Linked DNA regions of Homo sapiens: region 1 is linked to region 2. The links are contacts of gene promoters, found by promoter capture Hi-C in human tissues and cell types (Jung and others, 2019). All regions are on one chromosome and are shown on one strand. The core of a region is centred on a gene start or on the middle of the fragment in contact, and the rest is flanking DNA. Distances in the headings are between cores, read along the strand shown.

Region 1 (6,619 bases), core at 3,042-5,541, 260 kb after region 2:
CTCCTGCCTCAGCCTCCTGAGTAGCTGGGACTACAGGCGTGCACCGCCATGCCCAGCTAATTTTTAAATTTTTTGTAGAGACACGGTCTCACTATGTTACCCAGGCTGGTCTCAAACTCCTGGGCTCAAGTGATCCTCCTGCCTCGGCCTCCCAAAGTGCTGGGATCACAGGCATGAGCCACCATACCTGGCCTACTTTGGTTTTATAGTTTTTCCTTTAAGACCTCCCGGAGGCTGCACTTGGCCCCTGAATCCTTCTTCCCCTCCCTATCCCGGTATCCCTGATCCAGCCACAGTGGGCTTGCCACGAGCTGTGAGTGTACACCCTGATAGCCCTAAGCCCCATAGGGCCGGCGTGTGCTGCCTGAGTGTCGGCACCCGGAATATACTGTCTGTGTTACTGCAAGTCCCTGTTTTCTGCTGTCGTTATTTACTTGTATGGCTTTTTTTGTTTTTTTTGTTTGTTTGTTTTGAGACAGACTTTCGCTCTTGTTGCCCAGGCTGAAGTGCGGTGGTGCAATCTCGGCTCACTGCAACCTCCGCCTCCTGGGTTCAAGCGATTCTCCTGCCTCAGCCTCCTGAGTAGCTGGGATTTCAGGCACGCGCCACCACGCCCAGCTAATTTTTTGTATTTAGTAGAGATGGGGTTTCACCATGTTAGTCAGGCCGGTCTCGAACTCCTGACCTCAGGTGATCCACCTTCCTCAGCCTCCCAAAGTGCTGGGATTATAGGCTTGCGCCACCGCACCTGGCCTACTTGTATGGTTTTTAGGCTTCCATTGCTGTTTGCATCCGTCTCTCCATGGAAAAGGTGTTTCTCTTGGATAGCAATTTTGATAGTTTCCCTAGGCTTCTCCGCAGCATCTGGTGAGAGATGGACTCAGCAAATGTTTACTGATGGGTTGGTGGATCTCAGTCTGCCCCATCACACCTGAATTCAGAACAGGGCCGCCCCAGGCAGCAGGAGTGTCCCCACCCTCAGTAATAGAGGCCCTCGTCTGTTCTTGTTCCTCCACAGTGTGGGGCTTTGGTTTTCTCAGTGTCTCACTGATTAACCTGGCCTCTCTCCTGGGAGTCCTCGTCCTGCCCTGCACAGAGAAAGCGTTTTTCAGCCGTGTGCTCACTTACTTCATCGCCCTGTCCATTGGAACGCTGCTGTCTAACGCGCTATTCCAGCTCATCCCAGAGGTGCAGTAGAACAGAAACTTGCGCGTCCTCTTTCCCTGGGGCGGCACAGCTGAGCCAATCCCCTCCTCCCCTACCCTGGGCTCCAAGGCACCCAATGACTGCCACCTGAGAAATGAACCTGTCCCTCGTATCAAAGCCACAAACGACTTCTAACTCTGGATCTCAGGGCCCACCTCTCACTCCTCTGGCCTCTGCAGGTGCTGTCAGATGCAAGGTTCTTCCAATTTCCCTCCTCCTGGGGACTTGACAGTCTCCCCTCCCTTGTTAAGCCCCATACATAAGGCATCAAGGGAAAGCAGCAGCTATCGACTGCCGTCCATGCCTTTGGTGCTAAGTACTTGCTCTATTCTAAGGAGAAATCCTGGCAGTACTCAGGTCTGGGCACCAAGAGCTTATCCATCTGGAATGAGATGGAAGGAAAAGAGGTTACCAAGTGATATGTAGAATTGGCCTAAAAAGCGAGTGTTCTTTAATTTTGAGCAGGCCATCGTTTCTAGCATAGAGAGCCAAACACAGAACAAAGACTAAGACCAAACAAAATTAAAATGACAAGATAAATGGAAGGGGCACTCAGCCCTTTGTACCTTGCATCTTGACTTTTTTCTGATAGGACTGACTTCCTGGTACCTTGACTTGACTGTTTTGAAATGTTAATTTTGTTGTTTAATTGTTATCATAGAGGAGCTATAAAAATAAGGCCCAAGTTGACAGTCTGCCCACTTTTTTAGCTCAAGCAGGGATGCTGCTGTGGAGGGTGAGGATACGCAGACGTGTGGTTGACCCCATTAGGGAGTCATGGATGCTGCCCTTCACAAAGATCCCATGTCAGCTGCTTCTCAGGCTTTCCCAGTCAAAAGACTCACCCAGAAAAGACAGCAGATGGGATGCCATGCCTTGCCTGTTCTTCCTGGTTGAATGTGAACCATCTTGGTGCCATCTCAAAATTCTGCATGGCTCTGACAAACACTTTGCAGGGGAGGCCTCAACTTGGGCTATTTTTTCAGCTCCAGCAATGGAATATATTAATTTTTTAAAGATTTGAAATGAAAGGCCTTGTGACCTCCTGGAATGGAAATACTGTAATTGTGTGTGCTCCACCCCTGTGGCCTGCCAGGGAGTGTCTCATCCTGGTCTGGTTCTGTCTTGCCCTCTTTTGGGCCTGGACAGAGTGTCACAACTGGGAAATGTTCAAGGAAATATTTTTGTGACAGGGTGTTCCTGGAACTCTGTTCTTTGTGCTTGAGCCCCTCTCAGAGCACATGGAAATGAGCAAAGAAGTTGAGAGGTTAAGACACTGAATTTTATGGGCATTGGGCATGAATTAATCGTTCTCCATCCCTTCTGCCCTGCACATCTGGCTTGGTTGTGTCTTGCACAAAGCAAACCAAGTGGTCGTGGTGTCACCCGAGCCTGCGCCGTGTGAATTGGACATGCAAAAGCAAACGCAGCAGCAGAGTGATCAGCCTCTTTCCACCTGCTTGCATGTCCTATAAAGAGAGCCCTCGAGTCCAAAGTCTGTCCTGGACAGCCTCTGTGATAGGTCTGGGCAGACCTTGGGTGTGTGACGAGGCAGCACCCTGCCCTGCCAGTCACACCACTGGCAGGAACGATTTGGGGCCACCAGTGGCCACAGGGGCAGAAGTCACAGGGTTCCAAGGCCACCTTGAATTCCTCTTTCTTCTGAACTGATTGAAGGAAATTTCATCAGATGTGAATCACTAACAAATTTTCTATTTCTCTCTCCCTCCCTACTTGTCTCTCTCTGATTTTTCTTTTTTGTTCCGTTAATATCCACCAAACTTTTCCTTGCGACCTCCCTATCTGCTCCACCTTCCTCCCGCTAAATGGTGGTTGCTGTGCAATGGGGCATGTGCCTTCTCTCCCTGCCCTGGGTGGGGCTGGCCCTCCCTCCGCACGGCAGTGTGGGGATACGGTCTCCTCTGTGTGACCGTCATCTCCCTCTGCTCCCTCCTGGGGGCCAGCGTGGTGCCCTTCATGAAGAAGACCTTTTACAAGAGGCTGCTGCTCTACTTCATAGCTCTGGCGATTGGAACCCTCTACTCCAACGCCCTCTTCCAGCTCATCCCGGAGGTATGGCAAGCCAGGGCCTTCACCCCGGAGCATGCCGGCGGGCACAGTGGGAGGACCTCCGTTTGGATAGAAGGCATAGAGAGGGCACCTGGAGGCCCTTTCCTTTTGGAAAGCGAAGCTAGAACTTAGGCGTGAACTAGGAGAGGCAGCCCAGCATAGGCTGAAGAGCTGGGTTCAAATCTCAGCTCTGCTATCAGTAGGTTCCGTAACCCCAGGCACACCACTGACCTCACACTGCCTCTGTTTCTTCAGATGTGAAATGGGGAGAGCAATAGACCGGCCTCAGGATGATGTTGTGAGGGTGGAACGAGCGAGTCTGCTGCAGCACTGAGTGCCTGGTGCGGAAAGTGCTGTCTGATGTGGGGTGAAAAGATGCAGTGTAGCGAGCTCACTCTGGCTTAGTTGTGGTGCTCAGATTAAGGCTTTGGGTGCAGAGAAGTTTAAAAAACATCATCAGCCGGGTGCAGTGGCTCACACCTATATTCCCAGCACTTTGGGAGGCTGAGGCAGGTGGATCGTTTGAAGTCAGGAGTTCAAGACCAGCCTGGCCAACATGGTGAAACCCCGTCTATACTAAAAACACAAAAATTAGCCAGACGTGGTAGCGCACGCCTGTAATCCCAGCTATTCGGGAGGCACAAGAATCACTTGAACCCAGGAGATGGAGGCTGCAGTGAGCCGAGATTGCACCACTGCACTCCAGCCTGGGTGACGGGAGTGAGACTCCGTCTCAAAACAAACAAACAAACTCCCACATCATCAGAACCCACAGTTCTCAGTAAAAAGATTGTCCATAGGGAGTTTTGGGGCAAAGGCAATGCAAGTCAAACAATGTCTGGTTTTATATACCTTGATGGTACCTTTGCCTAATAAGTTCATGAGAAAACTTGCCACAAAAGAAGGAGCTGATGGTTCATCTAATTTGGTGTAATCCCCTCAGCAGACCCATTAATTACAATAAGCACAGGACGTCTCCCTGTGGGTGGTCTCGCAGGCCTGGACAGAGCCGCAGTTGAAGCAGAGATGACTGCATGCGCCTCTTACAACACTTGGTGTTTTCTGAAATGTCAGTTGGCTCCCTCCTAGTGGATCCTTAGGTTAACTCCATGGCATCGATAGAACAAGTAACGTTTTACCACGTTGGAATCTGACCTGCACAAGAGCGCATATCCCTGAGTCGAGAACCCAGCTTTTGGGATTTCTGAAGCTCAACCCCATGATTCTGTATTCACCATCCTTTGTGGCTTTTTGCAGAGAAGTGTTCGTTGCCTATTTTCACTTCACTTTTCCCCCAAGATGATTCGACTCCCCTGGAAAGTCAACATGAAAGTGTTGTTTCCCTGGAGGGTGGTGATTCAATTTGGCCTGTTTAAAACATAAAGGCAACAAACAGCCCAGAGTTCCTTGAAGTTGGGATCAACTTTTATTTTGGACCAATTCATGAGAGGGCTGAAGTTTATTCAAGGCCCGTTTCCCATCAGAAAATGGAGGAACAACCCGGTAAATATATATACTTCCTATGTACCCACAAAAAAATTTAAGAATAAAATAGGAGCAAGTCGTTAGATACTTTTTTTTGTTTGTTTTTGAGACAGTCTCACTCTGTCACCCAGACTGGAGTGCAGTGGTGCCATCTCGGCTCACTGCAATCTCTGCCTCCTGGGTTCAAGCCATTCTCCTGCCTCACACTCCCGAGTAGCTGGGATTACAGGTGTGCCACCAGGCCCAGCTAATTTTTGTATTTTTTTTTTTAGTAGAGTTGGGGTTTCGCCATGTTGGCCAGGCTGGTCTCAAAACTCCTGGCCTCAAGTGATCCACCCACCTCGGTCCTTTAAAGTGCATGAGCCACCGTGCCCGGCCAGGTCATTAGACACATTCACAAGAACCCACCATAAATCAGGAGCTTACCCTAGGACAGAATTCTCTTGATTTCTACTCCTGTCCTCTTCCCAGTGGATTCTCCCCTCCCTCTTTGATAAGTGACAGTTTCAGAAAGGACTCAAAACAAAACCCAAAAATTGACGCTCGCAATAACACAGTCCACTTTCTTGGTTCTGTGGTCACTGGGAGGTCTGCGGTTAGGAAAACGCTGCAGTTCTTATTACTTAACTGGGAAATGGGTTTCCCGTTTTAGAAAGTATAATTACACCATCTCCCTTTGTGTTTACAGGCAGGTCAGCCAGGAACACTAGATAAGATGAAAATAAATACAAGTGTCTGCTCCTTCAATATGAAATCTATTGGCAGAGAATGCCTTCATAGCAAAGCACCAAGATAAATCAAAAGTGGAAAACCATATCGGAGGTTTTTCTTTCTGGGATTAAAATTCTACAGATGATCAGTCTTTTGCATCAGCAAATAAGCTTGAGAAGAACCTGGCAGGTTTAGTGATGTCACATCAGGGAAACACCAAGGACTAGATTTTTGCTGGAAAGAGGATGGGTAGACGGCAGAGTTACTCCATTATGCCTCTCTCCTTTCCTAGAGTCAAGGAAGTAGTTAAGAGATAAGAGGGGGATCAGTAAAGATGCTTTATTTTCTTTAAAACTCATTTTCTTTTCCTGGGTCCACAGGCATTTGGTTTCAACCCTCTGGAAGATTATTATGTCTCCAAGTCTGCAGTGGTGTTTGGGGGCTTTTATCTTTTCTTTTTCACAGAGAAGATCTTGAAGATTCTTCTTAAGCAGAAAAATGAGGTGAGGCCCAATTGTTGCTGAAGAAAGCTCTTCTAGGGAAAACACCCATCTCAAACAATGTTGATGTATTGTGGTGGTGGTGGTGATGGTCTTAGCCCAATATCACAATTTCCGTGAAACTCTAATTTCTTGAGGAGACAATCCCATTTCACCTCCTGAGGATATTTGGCCAGAAGTGAGGCCAGACCAGAAACTAGATCTGGCCAGGGTGCCTTCTACTAAGCAGTAGTTTATCCCCTTTGTTTTGTTCTAAGATTATTTCCTTAATATATTTGTATCTTTACAGGATGGGGAGAAGAGCTTGATACCATGCATTCATTCTGTATGAAGTATGAGGCTGCAGAGAAACAGGACTATTATAGTACAGTTTCAAAAAGATATCTTTAGTGGCTGGCATGCAGTTATTCCCTAAATAGCTGCTGAATTGAGTGAGATTAGCCATTGCAAAAGAGGAGCTCTAAATATTTGAGCAGTGGCTGCCTTGGTGGAATAAGCATGTACCCCGAGGAGACAGCTTTGATATCTGTCTGACACCAGGTCCTTCGCACTTGGTGCAGATTTATATATATAGATATTAGAAACGGGGTCTCGCTTCGTTGCCCAGGCTGCTCTCAAACTTCTCAGCTCAAGCAGTCCTCCCACCT
Region 2 (6,301 bases), core at 3,590-6,089:
GCAGTCACAGTTGAGTGAGTTGCCCCGCAGGTCCCTGCATCATGAGGGCAGAGGAGGGGGGCACAGAGAAAGACATGCTCTCAGGGCTCTGCCTACCCAGGCCCTCCAGGTTTTCAGAAATAGAGCTGGTCAAGGCTGCTGCAAGTTGCTCACATGCATCTTTGTAAGATTAGAGAAAAGTTTCCCTCTGGCTGGATGTAGCCCCACAGACACAGGCTTGGCCAGCAGAGTATGGAATCAGTTTCAGTCCTTGCTGACTTCTTTGGCTAGGTTGGCTTTTGCAGTGTGCATCCTGCACAGCTGTATGTTGCATCCCTGCTCCTCTAAGCCTCCCACAATCCAAGGCTTTTATTTTCTTATAAATAACAATAAATGAGTGTGGCTCTGCTATATACTACTATATGCTATATATTCCTTACTCGAAACTTTCAAAATCCCCTCCCGCTGATTGGACTTTAATGTAGAGTCCAATCAAACATACATTTAAAAAGCACAGGCTGGGCATGGTGGCTCACACCTGTAATCCCAACACTTTGGGAGGCTGAGGTGGGCAGATCACAAGGTCAAGAGTTTGAGACCAGCCTGGGCAACGTGGTGAAATCCCATCTCTACTAAAAATACAAAAATTACCCAGGCATGGTGGCGCACACCTGTGGTCCCAGCACTTGGGAGGCTTAGGCAGGAGAATCGCTTGAACCCGGGAGGCAGAGGTTGCAGTGAGCGGAGATCACGCCATTGCACTCCAGCCTGGGCAACAGAGTGAGACTCCGTCTCAAAAAAAAAAAAAAAAAAAGCACATGTTGGCCGCGCACAGTGGCTCAGGCCTGTAATCTCAGCACTTTGGGAGGCAGAGGCGAGTGGATCAACTGAGGTCGGGAGTTCAAGACCAGCCTGACCAACATGGAGAAACCCCATCTCTATTAAAAATATAAAATTAGCCAGGTGTGGTGGTGCATGCCTGTAATCCCAGCTACTCAGGAGGCTGAGGCAGGAGAATTGCTTGAACCTGGGAGGCAGAGGTTGCCGCGACCTGAGATGGCACCACTGCACTTCAGCCTGGGTGACAGAGCGAGACTCTGTCTAAAAAAAAAAAAAATTTTTTAAAGTACTTTTTTTTTTTTTTTTTTAATATTTTGAGACTGAGTTTTGCTCTTGTCGCCCAGGCTGGAGTGCAATGGCATGATCTTGGCTTACTGCAACCTCTGCCTCCCAGGTTGAAGTGATTCTCCTGCCTCAACCTTCCAAGTAGCCAGGATTACAGGCGCCCGCCACCACACCCAGATAATTATTGTATTTTTAGTACAGACGGCGTTTCACCATGTTGGCCAGGCTGGTCTGGAACTCCTGACCTCAGGTGATTCGCCCTCCTTGGCCTCCCAAAGTGCTGGGATTACAGGCGTGAGCCACCACACCCAGCCTTTTTTTGGCTGAGCACGGTGGCTCAGCACATTTTTGGCTGAGCGCGGTGGCTCACACCTGTACTCCCAGCACTTTGGGAGGCTGAAGTTGGCAGATCACAAGGTTAGGAGCTCGAGACCAGTCTGGCCAACATGGTGAAACCCCGTCTATACTAAAAATACAAAAAATTAGCCGGGCGTGGTGGCGCACACCTATAGTCCCTTAGTCCCAGCTACTCCAGAGGCTGAGGAAGAATCGCTTGAACCTGAGAGGTGGAGGTTGCAGTGAGCCGAGATTGTGCCACTGTACTCCAGCCTGGGTGACAGAGTGAGACTCCGTCTATAATTAAAAAAAAAAAAAAACACACACACACATTTTGAAAACATACACACATGGTGTCTCAGGTGCACTTTGAGAGAAACTCCAATTTGGAAGGCTACCATCTATATCTAACTCCACCTCCTCACCTCCTCAGGGTCCCCCCACCCAAGCCTTCCCAGCCTCTCAAGACCTTATGACCATCCCAATTCTGACTCCCACACCACTCCCTCCAGGGATGCGCCCTCTGCGGCACTGTTGGAAGAGGCAGGACTCAGGCCTTACAAGTCATTCAGGATGTCCAGGGGCCGGAAGATGTCTCTGGGCAGTGTCTGCAGGTTATTGTTGGCCAGCGAGCTGCAAAAGAGACCGCCAGGTCATCTGAAGATCATGAGCAAGGCCAAAGGCCACAGGAGAGGTGGGGCTTTGGTGCAGTGTGTGTATGTGTGACGTACTCACAGGTGAGTCAAGGACTTGAGTCCTCGGAAGGTGAACTTGGATAGTGCCCAGATGTCATTGTTCTCAATGAAGCTGGGGAAAGCGGGAACTTGCCTCAGTGCTCACACAGGATGCCAGACCCCCAGCAGCACTCGCCCTACGCCCCAGCCTAGATTTCAGCCCGTGTCCCCGAGACAGGTTTCCAAATGGAGTCTGGCATCACCAAGCCATAGAGATAGAGCATCAGGTAGGGTAGAGGCAAAATGAATGAAACGACCTTCTGCTCAGGTCCTGCCATCACGGGATGCAAGGGCTCTCGCCTCCCATCACCTTCCCTTCCTGCGGCATTCTCATCCACTCCCTACCCAGTCCCTCGGCCTCCCAGGCCTGGGGTCCCCCTCCCTTCTGCTTTCCCATTGCCCCTTTCCCTCCCACACACAGATACTGCAGGTGCGACAGTCCTGTGAAGGCGTTGTCTCCAATCAGTGTAAACTTGTTGGAGTTGAGTAACCTGCAGAGACAAAGGTGGAATTAGAGCTTCCAAGGGTGTGCCTGCTGCCCCAGCCCCCAGCCCGCTGCCTCAGCCCTGGGCTTCCCCAAGACATGACTGCCCTGCTGCTACCCCTGGGGACCCCATGGGGAATCCCTGGGCCACCTGGGCAACAAGGCCAGGCAGGAGCCTGTTCTGGCCCCAGAAGCTCCCAGGGTCCCTGTTGGATCCTAAACATGGGCCAAGGCAGAGCTCTCTTGTCAAGCCAGCTCCTGGTCCTCCCGGGTGGCATCTCCTCTCCCTCTCCCCCACCCTCATTCTGTCCCATTCCAGCCCCTCATGGACAACTGTCCCTCATGGACGGCATCTTGTAGGGTTGGAGACACTCCTGCCATCCCTTTCTTTCAGCCCCCAGCTCTTTCTGGGAACTCTGATTCCTGGGATCACCTGTCTCTAAGATGGCCCCACAGTGCCCACCTTGGGCACTAGCCCAGGCTATCGCACCCAATTCTCTGGGGTTTCCAGAGCAGCCAAGCCCATCCCCGCATCCCACTTGCTTGGCTTCTCTGTGCCATCCCTAGCTGTCCTCCTGCTGCCCCGACTCCCCTGACTCAAGGCTGCCCCGTCTTTTGGGTACATCCTATCAGAACAAAAGCAAGGGACACCTGCATCTTCGTCTGCAGAGGCTGCCTCTGTCCACTCTCCCTCTCCCCAGCCCAGGATTTGTCCCCTGCTACCACCCCATAGTTCCCCCAACCCTTCCACAAGGCCCTATCCATACAAGAACTGCAGCAGCGGGAGGTGGGAGAACGCTCCATCCTGGATCTCTGAGAAGGCGGCATTCACCAGGGTCCTGCGGGGACACCCGAGTCAGTACTGTGGGGTCTGCAAGGGCTGTGCTGAGGCAGGGAGAGGTGAACACGGAGGGCAGTAGCTTTTGTACTCACTTGCCCTGGAAATGCCCCATTTCACCTAATTTAGCCCCCATCTGTGTGTCTTTCCCTTCTCCTCCCAAATTCACTGCCTGCCTTCACCAGGGTCCTCCCCTATTGCCTCTTGGGGCACCCATGGCCCCAGGCTCAGCTTCCCTCTCAGGCAAGAAAAGGTTCCATCACCCACACCGTTGTCATCATCATCCAAACACCCACAATGGGCTGGGTGCTGTTGAGAGATGGGGCATGGGGGTGGGGGCTGGCATCCTGGTCCCCAAGGACCTCACAACCTCTCTGGTCCCACAGACAAGGGGGAGCCCCTGAGGCTGGCTGTTGTGAGTGACAGGCTGGCCGAGCTGAGTGCCAAGTGGCTGGTCAGTGGCGGGCATGTGCCCCATGCCAGGGTGCTGGGAGGGCATAGCTCATTCTCATCCTGCTCTGGCCGCCACTCTCCTGCCCTTGGTGTGACATCACAGGCAGGGGCCCACATGCTCGTGTAAGCAACCCCCCCAAGTCTGGAGCACAGCACACAGTAGGTCTCACTGTCGCTCGTGGTGATGATGATTCATTCTTGGTGGTGAACTCCTGCTTTCCCCACCCATGGCCGCTGAGCCTGCAAAACTGCAGAACTCCCTGCCCGACTGGTGCCTGGAATCTCCAGCCCTGAGGACCCCTGCAGTCCCCCTGGTCCCCGCACTCTGAAGAGGGGGAGCGGGGGTTCTCCTGTCCTCTCCCAGAGCTGTCCTCGGCCTCCTCTCCCTCCCCAACCCCCAAGGCCAGGGCTGGACACTCACAGGGAGATGACCTCCGAGGGCAGGTTCCTGGGCACCGCCTTTGAGTCCACGCAGAAGGCGGTGTCCCTGGTGCAAGAGCAGCTGGGCGGGCAGGGGGGCGTCTTGGGGGGCCTCTTAGCGCTGACTTGCAGCATGAGGCAGAAGCCGAGCGCGGAGAGCGCCAGCAGCCCCGGCCCCGGGCCCCCCCTGGCCCGCAGCCCCGCCATGCTGCCCGCGATCTCTCCCTGGGGCCGGCGGCCGCGGCCCCCGCCCCACCGCTCCCGCGGCTGGGCCACCCCGCGCGGGCTGGCACCTCCCTGCCACCGGCAGCTGCTACCGCAGCCAGGGGCCCGCCTGCGGACTCCTCCTGCCCTCGGGCGCCGGCTGCGGTCCCCTCCCCTGCTCGCTCCCGCGATCCGGCTCGGGAGAGAAGAGCGGAGCGCGGAGCTGGAGCCGCAGCCGGGGCTGACCGCGCCGGGTGGCTGCGGACTGCGGCGCGGGCGGCGGGGGCGCGCGCGGGGCGGCGCGGGGCCTGGGAGTCACGGAAGGGGAGGCGTGGCCGCTGTGTGCTCTACCGGGCGGTCTCTGGGGCCATCCGCGTGTGGGGCTGCGCGTGAGTGCATGCGTGTGAGCTTGTGCTTGTGCCTCTGCTGGGCACGACTGTGCGCGCCGGTGCTCACCTGTCTCTGCACGGGCACATGCACTCACTGCCTTGTGGAGGCGCTTCGGCGTTAGGGATCCCTGTGCTTCTGTCTACCTGGGTTTCTTTGCATGGGGGGACACATCCCCTAGGCAGCATCATGGGCATGTCGTGAGTGACAGACGCATATCTAAGTTAGCATGCAAGATTAGAAGCACAAGGGCGTCCTGGAGGAGTCTGAAGTGCGCTTCTAACCGGATTCACATGTTTTTCCACGCGCCGCTGAACAGAATGTACCTTTGTGTCAGCATGAGCTGAAAAGGGAAACGCAGCCTCTGGAGCTGGAGTGGGACTGTGTGGAATTCTGGAACATTTCTCACGCTCAACCACAGCCTGTTAAAGCTGGGAAGCGCTTTGGATATTTTTCAGTCCAGCCCTTTGTCTAACAAATGAGGAAACTGAGGCCCCCTAAGCTTGCTATCGCAAGTGCTCTGTACTTTCCCTACTTAATCCTCTCAATCGTTTGAGGCAGGTGATAGTAATTCCCTTTTACAGACAAGAAAAGTGAGGCCTGTCGCACCAGAAGAAAAAGGTATCAGCAGGGATTTCCGCCCACTCTGCCCAGCTTCAAGGTTCACGGTCGTCCTTCCATGCACGGCTCTTCCAAGTGTAGCCCTGGGAGCCCGGGGGTCCTTGAGAACCTTTCAGGAAGTCTCTGAGGTAAAAACAATTTTCCTAATATTGTTAAGACATGATTTGCCCTTTTCACTTCTATGAAGCTCCAAATTTAAAAGATTTCCAAAACTGTAAAGAAATGACACTTTCTCTCTAATTTTATTTTGCTTTGTAAAATAATTTTGCTTTGTAAAATCGTTTTTCCATTAAAAATGTGATTTATGTCATAACCTATATTGGGTTTATTACTGATATTTTAAATTCACATGTAAATAAAAATGTAATTTCTCAGTAAATATCAACAGACATATCCCACATAAACAAAAGCTCTTGGGGGTCCTCAATACTTTTTGAGAGTGTTAAGGGGTCCTGAAAACAAAAAGCTTGAAGACTGCTGCTCTCTACCACGTTAGCTCCCCTGTGGCGGAGGATGACTGTCCTAAGAGCTCATAGGCACGGGGCAAGGGGAGCCTGGCTGTCAGCTGCCTGGGCTTCTAGTCTTGTGCTTTTTGCACACCAGTCCAGGGAACGAAGACCACTGGCTTTAAGATGCTTCCCCAGCTGTCCCCAGACTCTGCCAGCAGGGGATTCTCTGGTCTGAGCTTAAGTTGTGTTCTCCCAGCCAGGGATGCCCCTG

Evidence for each region. The method cuts DNA at HindIII sites, captures the fragments that hold promoters and counts their contacts. A contact is called where the count stands out against the background at its distance.
Region 1: a fragment that was not itself captured here is called in contact with the fragment with the promoter of LGI3 in region 2 in 1 of the 25 tissues and cell types used here (liver).

Annotation. Positions count from the first base shown.
Region 1 is chr8:22,408,928-22,415,546 of GRCh38, forward strand. SLC39A14 (solute carrier family 39 member 14) reads left to right here. Exons shown (of 9, transcript NM_001128431.4): 4 at 3,110-3,279; 5 at 5,853-5,975. Among named protein-coding and RNA genes, the nearest start is that of PPP3CC, 29 kb to the right of the region's middle. The HindIII fragment of the contact is 4,546 bases long and covers 2,019-6,564 here.
Region 2 is chr8:22,151,967-22,158,267 of GRCh38, forward strand. LGI3 (leucine rich repeat LGI family member 3) reads right to left here and starts at 4,840. Exons shown (of 8, transcript NM_139278.4): 1 at 4,371-4,840; 2 at 3,426-3,497; 3 at 2,594-2,665; 4 at 2,176-2,247; 5 at 2,002-2,073; 6 at 1-34. The coding sequence starts at 4,576. It also overlaps a transcript of SFTPC not described here. RefSeq lists an enhancer at 4,873-5,017 and a cis regulatory region at 4,945. The HindIII fragment of the contact is 9,171 bases long and covers 1-5,754 here.